Linked DNA regions of Homo sapiens: regions 1 and 3 are each linked to region 2. Evidence: promoter capture Hi-C in 16 types of primary human blood cells and fetal thymus (Javierre and others, 2016). All regions are on one chromosome and are shown on one strand. The core of a region is centred on a gene start or on the middle of the fragment in contact, and the rest is flanking DNA. Distances in the headings are between cores, read along the strand shown. Region 1 overlaps PARAIL (palmitic acid regulated anti-inflammatory lncRNA). Region 2 holds the start of OSGIN2 (oxidative stress induced growth inhibitor family member 2). Region 3 overlaps PARAIL (palmitic acid regulated anti-inflammatory lncRNA).

Evidence for each region. The method cuts DNA at HindIII sites, captures the fragments that hold promoters and counts their contacts. A CHiCAGO score of 5 or more calls a contact.
Region 1: a contact is called between a fragment that was not itself captured here and the fragment with the promoter of OSGIN2 in region 2, in 16 of 17 cell types (monocytes, M0 macrophages, M1 macrophages and 13 more). The highest score is 20.0, in monocytes.
Region 3: a contact is called between a fragment that was not itself captured here and the fragment with the promoter of OSGIN2 in region 2, in 3 of 17 cell types (M0 macrophages, total CD4 T cells and monocytes). The highest score is 6.7, in M0 macrophages.

What each region holds. Positions count from the first base shown.
Region 1 is chr8:89,719,323-89,723,280 of GRCh38, forward strand. It overlaps PARAIL (palmitic acid regulated anti-inflammatory lncRNA), which reads right to left. Exons shown (of 5, transcript NR_125822.1): 4 at 2,693-2,834. Among named protein-coding and RNA genes, the nearest start is that of PARAIL, 36 kb to the right of the region's middle. The HindIII fragment of the contact is 3,877 bases long and covers 1-3,340 here.
Region 2 is chr8:89,899,961-89,903,836 of GRCh38, forward strand. OSGIN2 (oxidative stress induced growth inhibitor family member 2) reads left to right here and starts at 2,610. Exons shown (of 6, transcript NM_001126111.3): 1 at 2,610-2,877. The coding sequence starts at 2,834. It overlaps LOC124901974 (a long non-coding RNA gene), which reads right to left and starts at 2,446. Exons shown (of 2, transcript XR_007061001.1): 1 at 2,059-2,446. It also overlaps the pseudogene RNU6-925P. RefSeq lists enhancers at 489-1,254, 1,255-2,020 and silencers at 2,314-2,612, 2,362-2,701, 2,732-3,181. The HindIII fragment of the contact is 4,461 bases long and covers 1-3,876 here.
Region 3 is chr8:89,742,285-89,746,645 of GRCh38, forward strand. All of the region lies in intron 1 of PARAIL (palmitic acid regulated anti-inflammatory lncRNA), which reads right to left. Among named protein-coding and RNA genes, the nearest start is that of PARAIL, 13 kb to the right of the region's middle. The HindIII fragment of the contact is 2,459 bases long and covers 1,430-3,888 here.

The sequences.
Region 1 (3,958 bases), core at 152-2,651, 180 kb before region 2:
CTTTGAGGAGCAGAGGGCAGAAGTCCTGAGTGCAAGATCCAGCTGTCCCTTCCTCCACAGATCCTCATTCCACTGCCAACTTTCAAAGTACTAATGAATAAGGAATCTCATTGGTTTCCTTTTAAGGGGCATCAAAATTCTGGTTCCATGTAAAATTTCTTATAGGTTTATACAATGTCTCTGCATTTTTAGCACCCTCTGTGTTTTCCATTGAATCTCATTTTTGAACAATTTCCCTTTCAAAAAAAGCAAAGCATTTTCCTAGTCATTCAAAACCATAACCAAGTTACTTGAAACATACTTGGAAGTACTCAAAAACACAGCCTGAATTTCATAAACCACGGCCTGAATTCCATCCTTTATATATTCACTAGTAGGTACGTGGCTAGAGAATAGTAGGCAATCACATTCTGCTTCCTAATTAGAAAGCAGCATATCTAAAGAACTACATTTGATATGTCATGAATAGAGGGCTCAAAATCTAAGCCAAAAGTAAAAAAATACATTATAACTAGTGATAAGAACATGTTGTACCAGAAAAGTAAATCCTCATAAGAAATGACAATCTACAATTTAATGAGCTCAGAATTACTCTAATCTTTTAATCTCCAAATATTCCTCAATATTAAAAGCCATTATATGAAGGTACATACATGAATCAGATGAAATAATTCACAAAGGCACTCAGAGAATCTTGGACTCTTATTAGCTTCCTTAAGTCTATAATATTATTCAGAAAAGGAACTAGGTGGAAGTCTACATATTATTTTCTGAACTTGATTGTTAAGACTAAACTGGTTATACATGTCTAGCTTCTCTAACTGGCCTGACATTCAAATAAAGACTACATAAATACACTATTTATTTATGCACACTTGTACACGGTTGTAACAATTTTTATATAAATATAATAAATATTTTTAGAATAATATAGAAATATACATGATCACGCTGTAAAACAATCCCAGTTACCAAGTTCTATTCTCTCTTATGTCTAAGTCACTGTCTTAGACTATAGTTTATGCTATGTGAAGTCAACTCTTTGCAGCCACAAGACAGCCTTTAGTTCTGTGCTCTACTATACTAAATTCATGGTATTTAGTTATGAAATTCTGGACTTTTGACAATCCTCTAGCAGAAAAGCCATGGGTTTCCATATGCCCTCGAATATAGCACTTCTGAAACTTTACTGTGTATATGAATCACCTAAAAACCTTCTGAGAAATATTCTTAGTTCACATTTCAAAGGGCTCCGTGCAAACAAAGCAGCAATGGCTGGAAATTATTCGGCCTTTGTTGTTTCCCTGTTTCTACCTCTGCTCAGTGACAAAAAACTAAAGAACATACATATTGTCCTTAATGTATGACTGCAACTATTAACACTAGGTAAATTATAATCCATAGTCCAGTCTAGTGTTTGTAAAGAAATCCCCATTCTAACTGGCTAGTCTCCCTGCTATGATGTAATCTTTTCTTGTGTGTCATTCCAGTCCCTTACAGTAATTTCCTAATTTCAGGGGAAAATTGAGTTTGCCTCTCAAAACAAAGCTGATACATGGTATTGCAAAGAAAAGAACAAGATTTCAATGCATCTTATTTTAATAGTCTATTATGAAGCAAGTCACTACAACCAGCCTTTACAAAACAGCTTATGTTAAAAGTTGGGATATTCTGAAAGGTAGTTAAAGAGTAATTTTTATTTGTTCTGCACAAAATAACCTTTCCTCTAATTTAAACAATGCAAGTGTAAACTAACAGCATAATCCCAATATATAACTCTTTCCAAATCCAGAGAAAGAAATGAAGTGATGTCTTTTAACCATCTTTCTGTCTCTAAGAATAAGAGATTATAGAAGATGAAATGTAGGAGACACAGTATGAGATCTTCTCAGAGAGCTTTAGGGCCCCTGCTACTTGTAGATAAGAATGAGCTAATTAGTGGGTTTGAGCAACAGGGATTTGATGATGCCACACCAGGAAGACCCTCAATCAGTGCCCATTGCAGGAAAGAGTGCCAAGGTGTTCTCATCAGCCCAGCTGAAAGCACTTTTCCTGGAAACAGACAATATAAACATGAACTTCAAAAGGACACGAGCAAGTATTATTCTTTCCATTTTGGGGACTTTACACAGTGTTCAGTGAATAGTGGGTACTTCATTAATAACTCAAGACTTTTCAAAGCCTAGAATCAGAGCATTTGACAAATGCTGATTAGCACCGGAGCTGGCATTTGTCAAGCTCTGACTTTTAACTCCTTTCCCCTCAGAATATCTGTGGTCCAATAAAATATCCCTGCCCCAGAAGGCAGGTGTGAGAGAGTACTGTGTTTGGCAAAAAGGAACACCGAGCTCTCTCTAAAAGGCAAATATACTTCTGCTTTTTATTTGTTCTAACAAAGACAATGGCCATCCGTCATGTTTCAGAGGAGCAGAGGACATCCACATGCATACTTGGAGGCCACTTCCCCAATCTTTGCTGCAATCCCCTTGTATCTGCCCACTGGAGACCAAGAAGATACACAGTTCAGCTCCTCTAATCTTTTCACAAATATAACAACGCTTAGGTGGGTTTGTAGAATCTTGGGGTAATCTCATGCCTAGCAGTTAATTACCAGTTCCTTGGTGCGCCTTACAAAACTACACTCACTAAGTAATCACACATGACATGCTCATTCATTTAGGCCACCACCTACCTCAAACATTGTTCAAGACTTGAGAGAGGTGCATCTCCATGAAGAATTATTGGCACTATTTTCTCTTCTACTTAGAGTCACAGGACAGCAGAGCCATATGCCACAAACAAAAATCAAACCAAAATAACATAAAATATTACCACTGTTAAGACGAGAAAAAGAATATGTTAAGATGGGGCAGGAATGCTGAACACACCTCTTTCCTTTCCCTGACTTTTTAAAACACTGCTACGTCCTTGTCAAATTCTGTTTGAGAAGTTAGACTCACACGCTTCCCAAATCTTAAAGCCTAGGAATACATTTTCCAGTAATACAGTAACTAGCGACAAAATTACTCTTCAGTCAAGCAAGTTGAAAGAAGTATGGAATTCATTTTAAATGGGTTATTAGCTGAATACTAAAATCAATCGTTCAATGTCCCAGGATTTTATCAATTAGATTTAACTGTAATTTAAGACAGTCATTAGCTTCCTAAATTCTTAAACTTTCAGAGCTTATAAAAGCAACACAGCCTGGCTGTGTATTTCAATCACCAAGTAGAGTCAAAACGTGTTTCAAGAGATCACTAAAATGCCTGCTGGAACTGAGGAAGGGAAAAAACAAGATAAAAACAAACACTAGCAAAACCGATACCCTAGTCACCTAATAAGCTTTTAGACAACAGATCTCCCTCCAGATTCTTGCAAGATTTCTTCTTTGACCTGACTCCCTTTAGATATAATAATTTATATGGTGCCCCTACTATCAGGGTTTAAGTGAGTCATCGCTTTGTTCTCTATATGTCAAAAGCACTCAGTACCTTCCACATATTCCTCTCTTGAAATTCAGAGTGGAACAAGTCACAAAACTTGTTTTCCCTCAGAGATAAGGTTATGCCAAATCAGCCAAGTCCCTGAGAAAAAGGCATCCCCAGTATTTTCATGTACTGGTACCATTTATTATAAAGGGAGACTTTTTAATTTTGTTGATTTGTTTGTTTTGAGGGGCCACATAAATTACTGTAAAATTGCTTTAGATTTCACACTCAGGCAGCGACACACAGTAGCTAAGAGACTAGACTTTGTCAGACAGAATGGGAATCTGGTAGGTTTTACCACTTACTAACCCACATAACATTGGGAAAGTAACATTAGCTAATTGTTAATTACTAAGGCACTGTTCAAAGTGCTTAACTTGAATGAATTCATTTACTCCTCAAAAGTCCCTATGAGATAGGATCCTATAAATGAGGTAACTGAGGTAAAAACAGTAAGTAATATACTCAAG
Region 2 (3,876 bases), core at 1,360-3,859:
ACATGATCCAGCAATGCCACTGATAGGTATATACCCCAAAGAAAGGAAATCAGTATATCCTAAGATATACTTGCACTCCCATGTTTATTGCAGCACTGTTCACAACAGCCAAGATTTGGAAACAACCTAAGTGTCCATCAATAGACAAATAAAGAAAATGTGGTTTATGTACACAACGTAGTAGCATTCAGCCATAAAAATGAATGAGATCCTGTTATTTTCAACAAAATGGATGCAACTGATGTCACTACTTTAAGTGAAATAGGCCAGGTACAGAATGACAAACTCTGCATGTTCTCACTTATTTGTGGGAGCTAAAAATTAAAACAACGGAACTAACAGAGAATAGAATGATGGTTACAAGGCTGGGCAGGGTAGTGGGGAATTAAGGGGCAGAGTGGGGATGGTTAATAGGTACAAAAGTATAGACAGAATTAGATCTAGTATTTGACAGCACGAGAGTGACTAGTCAACGATAATTCATTGAACATTTTAAAATAACTAAGTATAATTAGATTGTTTGTAGCACAAAGAAAGGATAAATATTTGAGGTGATGGATACTCCATGTACCCTGATGTGATTATTACTTATTGTATGCCTGTATCAAAATCTCATGTACCCCATAAATATATATACCATGTACTCACAAAAAATAAAAATTAAAAATTAAAAGAATTATCTGGATTGGACTGGCATAGCTTTCAGGAATTTATATGTTTATTTTTAATTTTTTTGGTTACATAGTAGGTGTATATATTTAAAAATACGGAACGCTTCACGAATTTGCGTGTTATCCTTGGGAAGGGGCCATGCTAATCTTTATATTATTCTAATTTTAGTATATGTGCTGCAGAATTAAGCACTGCTTTTAGGAATGTAGGTACTTTATTTATTTATTTTTGAGACGGAGTCTCGCTCTGTCGCCCAGGCTGGAGTGCAGTGGCGCGATCTTAGCTCACTGCAAGCTCCGCCTCCCGGGTTCACGCCATTCACCATGGTCTCGATCTCCTGACCTCGTGATCTGCCCGTCTCGGCCTCCCAAAGTGCTGGGATAACAAGCGTGAGCCACCGCGCCCGGCCAGGTACTTTATTATTATTTTTTGATACGGAGTCTCACTCTTTGGCCCAGGCTGAGTGCAGTGGCGCGATCTCAGCTCACTGCAACCTCCGCCTCCCGGTTTCAAGCGATTCTCCTGCATCAGGCTCTTGAGTAGCTGGGATTACAGGCGCGTGCCACCACGCCCGGGGCTAGGTTTTGTATTTTTAGTAGAAACGGGTTTCACCATGTTGGTCAGGCTGGTCTGGAACTTCTGACCTCAGGTGATCCGTCCGCCTCGGCCTTCCAAAAGGAATTTAGGTACTTTAAAATGCTGTTATGTATGTTAACGGAAAAGTAACTACATGCTTCATTTTCAGAACCAACATTCAAATGAAATGAACGTGTCAAATCGACAAAAGCTCAAAAAAGAGAAAAACATATAATACTTAAAAGTGGTTAATATACTCTTAGATTGCATAACTCTGGGGCAGTCTGAGTCCTATGATTTTCTTTTAAGACCCCAAGACTCTAAAATACCTGCTCATCACAAGTTTGTTCAGTGACAACATTCAGTAAAACTTAACATTTGTTTTACAAAATTATGTTGAAAGATATAAACATAAACGTATATTTGAAGCACAAAAATAATTACGGCTTTTTTTGGAAGCGGAGTTAGACATTTCCGTAGAAAAGTAGATGCAATCAATCTCTCCTGATTTTTGTCCTCCCCACCTTTAATTTTTGACAAACCGAATAACGACACTCACTATTGAGTACTTTTCTAACTCCCTATTGCATCACAAACGCCCGCAGGGGCTTAAAAAGCAGCAGGGGTTCCTGCCCTTCCCCACACTGGCCGGTGTGGTCTGGGGCGGGCCTGATGAGCACCTGGATTTTCACCCGGCGTGCTGGTAATTCCTACACTTGTGGGTGTTTGAGAGACATGAAGAGGGGAGGATGACCTCTTCCCGGAAGCGGGACTTCCATAAAAGAAGCGTGGTGGGCGGGTCCCGGGCACCTGTGGTTTGGTGAGTCCTCCAGGTAACTGTGATGCGGGGGTCAGCGGGAGAGGCACCCGGAAGCTCCCGGCGTCTGCACCCCGGCAGCGCGAGGAAATGCCCAAAGGTGGGTTCTCAGGCGTGGGAAGCTCGACCCTTCCCGGGGTCCTCGGCGAAGTGGCCGAGGCCGCGCCTTACGCAGGGAACTCCGCCGGGCCATCTGGGTGGCCCGAGTTCGCAGCAGCTTCTCTTCCGCTCGTCCCTCGGCCCTCTCGACGCGCACCCACCGGCCTCACCAAGTCGCACGCAGAGGGGCGGCGGGGCGCTGACCGAGGTCTAGGTCTCGATTGCCGCCGGTCGAGCCGCGCAGTTTGCCTGCAGACCTCGGTCCCCTGCCCGCGCAGCCTCGGCTCCATCAGGCCCGGCCCCTCGCCCGGGCCGTGGCTCCACCAATCGCAGACTTCGCCCGCCGCAGCCGCACCTGCGAGGAGGGGCCCGCGCGCCGCTGCAGCCGCCGTCGCAGCGTCCCCGCCCCGCTCCGCCCCTATCGCGGCGCCCCGAGATCACCCGCCTCCGGCGCCTGGCTCCCTGCAGGCGAGGAGCGGAAGCCGCTATCTGGAGGCGGACTCCGGCGCCACAGAGCCGGGGCAGCCGCGGCAACGGCGAGGCGCGAGGCAGGGGCGCCCGGCAGACCCCGCGACCCCGAGCCAGCGGGCGCCCCGAGCGGGCAGCCTCGCCGGGGGAGGCGGAGGCGGCCACGGCGGCCGCGCTCGGGCGCCCCTCGCGCAGCGCTCCATGCCCGTGTGGTGCTGCCGCTGCTCCCTGGCCGGTCATTTCAGGTGACTTCCTCGCCGGGGATGGGAGGGGAGCAGGCGGGGATGCCGCGCTCTCGAGCTTTTTGGCCTGGCCCGGGCCGGGACCGGGGTGGAGGGCGAGCGCCTGGACCGCAGCGTCCTCCCGCCTCGGCCGTCCTGCCTGGCGTGGGGGTGGGGTGGGGTGCGGTGTGGTGGGGTCCTTGCTCCGGGGAGCCCTGCGCTGTTCCCTTTTCTCGCTCTGGACCGCGCGGGTCACGGGACTGCGGGATCGGCTAGGCCGGACTGAGTCGGTTACGGCGAGCTGAGACTTCCCAGTAGTGCAAAGTTTTAGTGAAGGGGGTTCTACGAAGTGCCTGCCTCCCTAAAAAAAAATTATTTCTTAAAAAGTCTTCTAAATAATGTAATGAGTGGAAGGAAGGTAGGGAACTACATTTCAGTGTCATCTAATCACAAATAGATTCTGCCTTGTTAAGATGTTAGCCATGGTAAGACGTGTGTGTTGTAGAAATTTAAAGAATGAGGCGGTTTTACAATCACCTTATGGGGAAAGGTTTTAGGGGTGATAAAATATAATACATTTCTAAAATAAAAGTATGTTTTCTAGATCTAGCACATTTGGTCAACACCTCAGTCATTGGTGGAAAGACCAGACACTAGAAACTGATTTTAACCCTGGGGTGAAGAATGGTTAAGCATAGGGAATACTTTAGTACCTTGCTTTACATATACTGATGTTCCAGAATAATTCTATGTAAGACTTCTTCCCTGGTAAAATATGAAATTTTGATCAAGCCTTCCTAAATAGTGGGTTTCATACAATTTAGGTAACCCATGAACTTGGATGGAAAGAAAGGTATATCATTTCACTAAATTTTAAAAACTAATATTCAGTTAAAATATAAGCAACAAATCACAGTAGTATCTGTGACTGTCATCAGTAGAGATCATAAAATATGTTTATATCACATTGCAGTTAATATAGAAATACTGTTTATACTTATTCAAAATTATAGTAACACATCA
Region 3 (4,361 bases), core at 1,409-3,908, 160 kb before region 2:
AAAGCAAAACCACAATGCGATACCACCTTACTCCTGCAAGAATGGCCATAATCAAAAAATCAAAAAACAGTAGATGTTGGCATGGATGCAGTGATCTGGGAACACTTCTATGCTCCTGGTAGGAATGTAAACTAACACAGCCACTATGGAAAACAGTGTGGAGACTCCTTAAAGAACTAAAAATAGAACTACCATTTGATCTAGCAATCCCACTACTGGGTATCTACCCAGAGGAAAAGAAGTCATTATTACAAAAAGATACTTGCACATGCACGTTTATAGCAGCACGATTTACAATTGAAAAATTGTGGAACCAATCCAAATGCCCATCAATCGACGAGTGGATAAAGAAATTGTGAAATATATATACATGAATACTACTCAGCCATAAGAAAAGGGATGAGTTAACAGCATTTGCAGTGACCTGGATGAGATCGGAAACTGTTATTCTAAGTGAAGTAACTCAGAAATGAAAAACCAAACATCGTATGTTCTCACTGATATGTGGGAACTAAGCTATGAGGACGCAAAGGCATAAGAATGATACAATGGACTTTGGGGACTTGGGGGCAATTGTGGGAGGGGGTGAGGGATAAAAGACTGCAAGTATGGTGCAGTGTATACTGTTCTGCTTATGGGTACACCAAAATCTCACAAATCACCACTAAAGAATGTACTCATGTAACTAAATACCACTTGTATCCCAATAACTAATGGGAAAAAAAAGTTTTAAAAAATCTGTACACTGAAAACTATAAAACATTGGTAAGAGAAATTGAAGAGGACAAAAATAAATGGAACAGTGTCCTGTGTTCATGGATTGGAAAAATTAATATTGTCAAAATATCCATACTACATAAAGCAATTTACAGACTCAATGCAACCCCTATCAAAATTCCAATACTATTTTTCACAGAGATAGAAAAAACAACCATAAAAGTCATGTGGAACCACAAGACCCTGAATAGACAAAGCAATCTTGAGGAAAAGGAGCAAAGCTGGAGGCATTACATTACTGAATTTTAAAATATATTACAAACTATAATAATTAAAACAGCATGTTACTCATAACAGATACATCAAACAACAGAATAAGATAGACAGCCCAAAAGTACACCCAAATATCGATGTTCAATTAACTTCCAAAAAAGATGCACGATGTAGAAAGGACAGTCTTCTTTAAATGGTATCAGGAGAACTGGATATCAATATACAGAAAAATAAAAATGGACTCTTTTTCACCAGTTATAGAAGAATCAACTCAAAATTAATTAAATTCTTAAATTTAGGACTTGAAACTATAAAACAACTAGTAAAAACAGGGGAAAAGCTCCATGACGTTGGAATGGGCAGAGATTTCTTGCATATGACCCCAAAAGCACAGGCAATGAAAGCAAAAATAGACAAATGAGATCACATCAAATTAAAAAGCTTCTGCACAGCAGAGGAAACAACTAACAGTAAAGAGACAACCCATACATTGACAGATATTTGCAAATCATATGTTAGATAAGGGGCCAATATCCAAAACATACAAGGAACTCAACTACTCGGTAACAAGAAAACAAATAATCCCAAACTTCTACCTGGACATCCAGGCATTTCTATATATCTTCTGAAATCTAGGCAGAGGTTCCCAAACCTCAATTCTTGACTCCTATGCACCCACAAGTTCAACACCATGTGGAAGTTGCCAAGGCTTGGGGATTCCACCCTCTGAAGCCATGGCCAGAGCTGTACCTTGGCCCCCTTTAGCCATGGCTGGAACAGCTGGGATCCAGGGCACCAAGTCTCGAGACTGCACACAGAAGTGGGGTGCTGGACCCGGCCCAGGAAACCATTTTCCCTCCTAGGCCTCTGAGCCTGTGATGAGAGGGGCTGCCACAGAAGTCTCGGACATGCCCTCGAGACGTTTTCCCCATTTGTTGGTGATTAGCATTGGGCTCCTCATTACTTATGCCAACTTCTGCTACCAGCTTGAATTTCTCCTCAGAAAATCAGTTTTTGTTTTCTACTACATCTTCAGGCTGCAAGTTTTTCAAACTTTTATGCTCTGCTTCCTCTTGAACACTTTGCTGCTTAGAAATTTCTTCCACCAGATATCCTAAATCATCTCTCTCAAGTTCAAAGTTCCACAGATCTCTAGGGCAGGGGCAAAATGCCACCAGTCTCTTTGCATAGCAAGGGTGACCTTTACTCCAGTTCCCAACAAGTTCCTCATCTCCATCTGAGACCATCTCAGCTTGGACTTTATTGTCCATATCACTATCAGCATTTTGGTCAAAGCCATCCAACAGGTCTCTAGGAAGTACCAAACTTTCCCATCTTCTTCTGAGCCCTCCAAACTGTTCCAACCTCTGTCTATTACCTAGTTCCAATGTCACATCTACATTTTTACAGCAGCACCTCACTCTGTCAGTACCAATTGACTGTATTAGTCCATTCTTGCACTGCTATAAGGACATATCTGAGACTGGTTAATTGATGAAGGAAAGAGGTTTAATTGACTCACAGTTCCACAGGGCTTGGGAGGCCTCAGGAAACTCACAATCATTCGCAAAAGGGGACGCAAACACATGCTTCTTCACATGGCAGCAGCAAAATGTGCAGAGCAAAGGTGGGAAAGCCCCTTATAAAACCATCAAATCTTGTGAGAACTCACTCACTATCGGGAAAACAGCATAAAGATAACTGCCCCCATGATTAAATTAACTCCCACTGGGTCCCTCCCGTGACTGGTGGGAATTATGGGAAGTACAATTCAAGATGAGATTTGGGTGGGGGACACAGCCAAACTGTATCAGGCAATATGGTCATTTTAATTATAGTAACTTTCTGATCTATAGGCATGAGATGTTTTTACATTTGTTTGTGTCATCAAAAATTTATTTCATCAGCCTGTTGTAGTTTTCCTTGTAGAGATCTTTCACTTCTTTGGTCAAATATATTCCTAGGTATTTTGTATTTTTCATAGTTATTGTAACTGAAATTGCCTTTTTTATTTGGTTCTCACCTTGATCATATAAGGGTATAGAAGTCATACTGATTTTTGTACATTTCTTTTCTATCCTGAAATTTTACTGAATTCATTTATCAAATCTAAGCGTTTTTTATCGAATCTTGAGGGTTTTCTAGATATGAGGTCATATTATCAACAGAGATATATTGACTTTCTCTTTTCCAATTTGGATGCCTTTTATTTCTTTACTTTGCTTAATTGCACTGGCTAAGACTTACAGTATTATGCTGAATATGAGTGGCGAAAAGTGGGAATCCCTGTCTTGTTTCTAGTTCTTAAAGGGAATGCTTTCACATTTTCCTCATTCAGTATGATATTGGCTATTGGTTTGGCACACATGGCTTTTATTATTTTGAGGTATGTTCCTTCTATGCCTAATTGGTTGAGGCTTTTTATCATGAAGTGTGGATGAATTTTTTCAAATGCCTTTTCTGCATCTATTGAGGTGATCATATGTTTTTTCCTTAATTATGTTTATGTGATGAAGCCCATTAATTGGTTCACATATGGTAAACCATCCTTGTATATGTGGTATAAAACCCACTTGATGATGCTGTACTATCTTTTTGATGTGCTGTTTGATCTGGCTTGCTAGTACACTGCCTAGGATTTTTGCATGTATGTTAATCAGGGATGTTTATCTGTAGTTTTCTCTTTTTCTTGTGTCCTTATATGTTTTTGGTATCAGCATGATACTGGCTTCATAGAATGAGTTAGGAAGAATTCTCACCTCCTCAATTATTGTAAACTGCTACCACTGCAGATGGGTCTTACCTGCAAGTGTCACCTACTTACTGGCCTAGAGGGTGGAGTGCACAGTCCATTACAGCATTTGCTTACACAACTATAGAGCACTTGGGAACAAGATAAGCTTCTTACAATCATTGCCTATACCACCCTGGCTACTCAGGAGGTTGCTGCTACTAAAACTGGCATTTGAGAAAGCCACCGCACTAAGACTATTTATGTCCAAGGAAACAATACTGTCTTTAGCACTGAACACACCTAGAAGAAAAGCCAAAAGACGCTACCCAACATATACTACAGTTACATTCTAAAAAAAAGAAAAGGCCTGCCCCAATAAAAGTAAATGTAAAAATACGAAGTGGCAACTATATCTCCAGATGCACAGAAATCAGCAAAATAGTACAGGAAGCATTAAAAGGCAAGGAATTATGACACCCCCAAATGAGTACAGTAATTTTCTGTTAATGAATCCAAACCAAAAATAAATCAGAGTGCCAGGTAAAGCATTTAGAATATTGGTTTTAAAGAAGCTCAATGAGATCCAAGAGAGTTCTGAAAACTAACACAATGAAATCAGAAAATCAATTCAGGATAT